Regions from separate parts of the Homo sapiens genome. Here region 1 is linked to region 2. Evidence: promoter capture Hi-C in human tissues and cell types (Jung and others, 2019). All regions are on one chromosome and are shown on one strand. Each heading gives the region's core, a stretch centred on a gene start or on the middle of the fragment in contact. The rest is flanking DNA. Distances are from core to core; before and after follow the strand shown.

Region 1 (2,784 bases), core at 133-2,632, 400 kb before region 2:
CTGCTTTTGTGGAGTTTTCAGTCCTGTGGGGGGACATGAATGTGCACTGGTGATTTCGGGAGTGCAGAGAGGAAGAATGGGGAGTGTTAACAGGGGTGGCAGCCAGGAGAAGTGACCCTGAGTGAGGGGCCCAGATGCTGAAACCTGAGGATGAGTAGCGAGAAGATGGGAAAGAGCACCCTGGGCAGGAAATGGCACTTGCAAAGGCCCAGAGGCAGGCAGGGCAAGGCAGGACCTGGAGAAGCCCATCTTGCTTGGAGTATAAGAGCAGGAGGGGGACAAGACAAGAGGGGCGAGGTCAGCAGAGACCCCGCAGGCAGCAGGGCGTTGGTGCCTGAGCCAGCCTTCCTGGAGCCCTGTCCCTGCCTTCCCTGTCACAGCTTGGTGCTGCTCCTTCCTCTCCAAAACACTTTCCAGGTCAGTCTTCCTCACATTTTAACGTGCATCGAGTAGCCTGGGGAGCGGGGCTGCAGGACTGTGCATTTGTTTTTGTTTGTTATGTTTTTGAGACGGAGTCTCCCTCTGTCACCCAGGCTGGAGTGCAATGGCACGATCTCAGCTCATTGCAACCTCTGCCTCCCAGGTTCAAGTGATTCTCCTGCCTCAACCTGCCAAGTAGCTGGGACTACAGGTGCATGCCAGCACACCCGGCTAATTTTTGTGGTTTTAGTAGAGACGAGGTTTTGCCATGTTGGCCAGGCTGTCCTCCAACTCTTGACCTCAAGTGATGATCCTCCTGCCTCGGCCTCCCAAAGTGCTGGGATTACAGGCGTGAGCCACTGCACCCGGCCAGGACTGTGCATTTTTAACAAGCATCTGGTGCTGCTGGTGCGGCATCCTCGGACCACACTTTGAGGACAAGGGGCTGTAGCCCTTGGCTTCTGGGGCATTGTGCTCTCCCCGATCTCCCCCTCCCTCCTTGGCTGGCTTCTCCTACTCTCCTGACCTCTAAGTGTGAAGGGGCCCAGGGTCAGGCCTCAGGTTCCCCTTCCTTCCCCATGTCCACCCGTTCCCATTCCACCCTTCCCACAGTGGCTTCCCCCACTTTACAGCTTCCAGGCCACATATCAAAAATATCCCCTGCTCCATGGTTGCTCTCCACCCCCTTAACCTGCCTGGTTTGTACCTTTACCCCATACTTGGCATATTATATGTTCATTTACTGTCTGTTTCTTCCCTCTGGAATTTGAGTTGCTGAGGACAGGGGCTCGGTCTCTTTATTCTGGTGCCTGGAATGGTGTCCTGGGCCCATGGTGGGCACCTGGTGACTCTCAGCCGAATGAGAAGTGAATGTGTTCAGGGCAAGGGTCAGAAGGGGGCTGGCCAGGAGAGTAACTGGACTGGTTCTGCTTTTGGTAGTGGCTCTGTGGCTGCGGGTGCAAGGCAGGCATGGTGGGGTGGGTGTGGAGGCAGAGTGGGAGGAAGCCGTTCAGAGGCTGTCATGGTCATCAAGAGGGAGGAGGTGGTGGGCTGGAGAGAAGGGGATGGGGGGATGAGTGGGAGGGAGCACCAATAGGGCTTGTTGGTGGTTTGATGGGGAGCAGGGAGGAGTCCTGGGAAACCAGAGGCTTCTGGCCCGGGCGGCTGTGCGGGGAGCCCCCGAGTTTGCCATGCTCCTGTCTGGGAGCAGCACGGTGGCTGCCACTTGAATCTGGGCTGTGCATCACCTTGGCTAAGTTTCTTCGTTCCTCCATGTTTCAGTTTGATAAAATGGAGATGACAGTAGAAGTCTCCCCATAACTGGTGGGCGGGGGCGGGGGTGGCTCACCCTTGTCGTGCAAAGCAGCATTAGCCAGAGTTTCAGCCAAGATGGGGTAATGGGGCCCAGGCTTGCCCTCCTGCTTGAAGGTGACACCAGTGATGAAGGAAAGCACTCCTCAAGCCATGGGGGAGAGACAAGGAGGGCCCTGTGGTGGCCCCAGCTCCCTCCAGCTGGAATCCCAGGCTATGGTGCAGGGAGCTCAGGTGCAGCCCGCTGCTCTCCCTGAGTTGCAGAGAGAGATGATAGCCCAAGGAGGCCAAAGTAGCCGGAGGTCACAGGACACAGAACTGGGGAGGAGCCTGCTGCTCCGTGGGGGACCGTGGAGCCACAGGGCTCTGCAGAGGGTCCCCCATGAGTAGCTGGCTGAACAGTGACTCAAATGTGAGCAAAACTACCTGAGGCCAGAGAAAGAACTAGCTGATAGGATTCCAGGGAACAATATTTGAAGCTCTCACAGGTCCAGAAATAGTTCCTCTTCCCACCAATCAGGGAAGGTTCTAATTCATGAAGCACTGGGTAGAGCTGCTCTAGACTTGCCTAACAAAGCTTAAAAGCAAGGCCTGAAAGGATCAAACTATTTCCCAATAACTGAGCTGCATCCCAGAACAGACATCACAAATATGTATTGCAATATAACAATGAAGTGGAATTCAAAATATCTGGCATCCAGTAACAAATTACCTGGCATGGAAAGAAGCAGAAAAATACAAACCACAGTGAACAGAAAATCAATTCATTGGAACTAACCCCGAAGTGGCACAGATGATAGAATTAGGAGACAAGGGTATTAAAATAGTTATTAACTGTAGCTTATATGTTCAAAACACCAGAGGAAAACTTGAGCATATGAAGTAGAGACATAGAAGATAGGAAAAAGAACCAACCGAACTTCTAGAGATGAAAACATGACAATGCCTAAGATGAAAAATGCAGTGGATGGAATTAACCTCAGACTAGATATTACAGAAGAAAACATTAGTGAACTTGCAGAGAGCAATAGAAGGGATCCAAAGTGAAATAGA
Region 2 (2,700 bases), core at 91-2,590:
CCGCCAAAGGGCAGAGGCCTCGCTGCCCAGCCTGGAATCGCTGGTGACTCACTCTCCCTCCTTCCCAGGAACCACGTCCTAAGTCCCACTGGTGAATGGTCCCTCTCCACATGGAGTTGCCACTGCGCGCGGTGAGGGGCTGCTGAGCTGGCTGGAAGACCGCACCTCCTCGGCGCTGGGTGGACCCGGCTGCCACCCGCTCTGCCTCCCCCGACCTCTTCTAAGCTGCTCCCGGTAAGGATTCCGCGACCCCCGGAGAACAGGACGGAAGCCTCGATTCTCTCAAGTCTTAGCCAAGTTCCCTCTTAAGAGGCCAAGAAAAGCAGCTTCGTTCGGCTGGGCAGGCATTTTCCTGCCTGGCCCTGCGGCCGCACGCGTGCCTCCGCCGCGACAAAGGCCACACTCAGCGCCCGAAGGAGGGGTGGGGGTGTTGGGAAAGCGATGGGGGCCAGGACTGGGGCCAAGTGGCCCTGGGGATCCTCGAGGCGGCTCGACCCGGGAGCCAGGACTGGCGCCAAGTGGCCCGGGTCCGGGTCCGGGAAGAGGCGGAGGCCGGCGAGGGGGCGGTGCCCGGGGCCAACCCAGCTCCCTCCGGCCCCGAGGGCTCCCGCCCCGCGCCCCTCCCGGGCCCTCCAGCCGCGCCCCGGGCCGGCGCAGCGACCGCGCCCGCTCTTCCACCGGCGTCCGGCCAGGAGGCGCGAGGCCCAAGGATGCGACCCACGACGCGCACACCCGGCTCGGCAGGCTCCCTGGGAAATGAGGGGCCACTCGCAGGGCCCCGCAGAGCGAGCGCAGCGCCGGAGCCTCCCCCATCCCAGGCCGCGCAGACCGCGGAACCGGCGCACCAGAGCAGTGCCCGCGGGCGGCGGCGGCGCGACCCAGGCTGAGGGGACTTTGGCCAACTTCGCGCCTCCTGAGGTCGCGTCTCGGAGGCCCGGGGCGCACCCTCCAGCCGCCCGCCCGCGTCCCGGAGCCCGGCCGCCCCAGCCAGGGCGCCTGGGCCGCCGCCGCTGCGACCTCCGCGTTCAGTCCGCGCGTCGGGCAGCGCGAACGCCGCCTCCCCGGGGCCCTCCCGCCCGCCGGGCGCTCACCTGGGACATCTGCGGCCGGAAGTTGATGTCCTTGAGGTCGATGGAGCCGGGGGAGAGGTTGTGCAGCAGCTGGCACAGAAGGACCCCGTCGCGCAGCGCCTGCGCCAGGTCGAAGACCACGGCCGAGGGCCACACCACCCGGTGGTTGGGCGGCAGGACCTTGCAATCGATGAGCCAGCGGCCGCACTGCCGCCACTGCTCCATGGCGCCCGCGGGCCCGACCGGCTCAGGGCAGTGCTCGAGCCAAAGTGCAGCGGCCGCGGGGCATCCCGCCCGCGCGCGCGCGGGGCTCAGGGCCGGGGCGGGGCTTCGCGCGGGCTGCCCCAGGTCCCCCGCTGCGCCGCCGTGCGTCCCCTCCTCTTCCTCCTCCTACTCCTCGGGCTCCTCTCGGGCCGCCGCTCCCGCCCACGTGCGGCCGCGGGGCGGGCAACGGGCAGCGCGCCGGATCTCCCCGCTTCACACACGCAAGTGCCTGCGGGCCCCGGGCCGGGCTCCACGCAGCCAGTCGCCGCAGCGCTCCCCAATCCGCGCCGCCGGGCGCCGCATTCTGCGCTCGGGGCGCCCCGCGGCCGCCGCGGCTCCTGCCCCGCCCGAGACAAAGGCCCGGCGGGGTCGCTCGCTCCGCGCGTCCCGGGCCTGGGCCGCCCGCGTCGCCGCCGCTTTGTTCGCCCCACCCGCAGTCCCCACGCCCGGCGCTGCGACTCGACGACTCGGCGGCTCGGCGGCTCCACGGCTCCGGGGCGCTGGGGGCGCAGGGGGCGCGGCCACGGCCGGGCGGGGCAGGGGCGGGGCCGGAGCACTCGCCTGGCACCTCCCCGTGTCCCAAGCGCCGCCCCCGCCCCCCCACTTCCTGCCCCGCTACCGCCCGCGAAAGTTGCGGTGGGCGGGGGTTGCGGCGCAGGCCCAGGTCCGGCCGACTTTCTCCAAGGGCGCTCGGACTTTGGGGAGCCCTTCTCCCTGGGGGAGCGACCTCGCCCGTGGAGTGATGGCCGGGCGTCCCCCCGGGTGCCTTTGGTCCTCCGTGGAGGTCAGGAGGTGGTCCCTGTCGCGCTGGGCGCCCTCGCATGGCCGTTCGGTAACGACAGACTCGGGAGAGGGCACCGGGCTGGGCCGAAGCTTACTGAGCCCCCTTGGCCCATCAAGCCGCCCCGGCGGGATACCCGAGGCTGAGGCTGAAGGCACACGGGCCCAGGACTCCCAGAGCCCTCTTCCTGTCCTCCGCCCTGGCCGGGGGCCCATAGGAAGACCCCCGACCCTGCATAAAGGCCAGGATTCCCCAGCTTTTGGCCAAAGTCCTGGCCACTCGCAGCTGCCCAGCGGGCAGTTCCTGGCGTCCAGGGCGGAATGCGTGACATGAGTGAGGGCAGGAAGGTGCTCTCCGGCCCAGGGTCGCAGCCGGCCCCGGTGCTGATCCGCCCTGATCTCCCTTCTAGGCCACACCCTGGGTGGTGGGGGCGCGGTCTGTCCAGCTGGCAACGTGTGACGGTAGGAGGGGCTTCAAGGACAAACAGATTCTGCAACTGAAATTATATGGATCCTGGCTCAGCTGCCGGGAACCGCGGGTTTTCACTGCTGATTCACTGGGGGACACCAGGCAAGTCCAAGCCCT

What was found. Contacts are between HindIII fragments. The study calls those that stand out against the background at their distance.
Region 1: a contact is called between a fragment that was not itself captured here and the fragment with the promoter of VAV2 in region 2, in 1 of the 25 tissues and cell types used here (mesendoderm cells).

What each region holds. Positions count from the first base shown.
Region 1 is chr9:133,594,658-133,597,441 of GRCh38, forward strand. All of the region lies in intron 1 of FAM163B (family with sequence similarity 163 member B), which reads right to left. Among named protein-coding and RNA genes, the nearest start is that of FAM163B, 13 kb to the right of the region's middle. The HindIII fragment of the contact is 4,184 bases long and covers 1-2,784 here.
Region 2 is chr9:133,990,984-133,993,683 of GRCh38, forward strand. VAV2 (vav guanine nucleotide exchange factor 2) reads right to left here and starts at 1,341. Exons shown (of 30, transcript NM_001134398.2): 1 at 1,092-1,341. The coding sequence starts at 1,295. RefSeq lists enhancers at 1-383, 384-1,111, 1,840-2,567, 2,464-2,653 and silencers at 494-933, 974-1,063, 1,334-1,483, 1,544-1,643, 1,744-2,053. The HindIII fragment of the contact is 15,000 bases long and covers 1-2,700 here.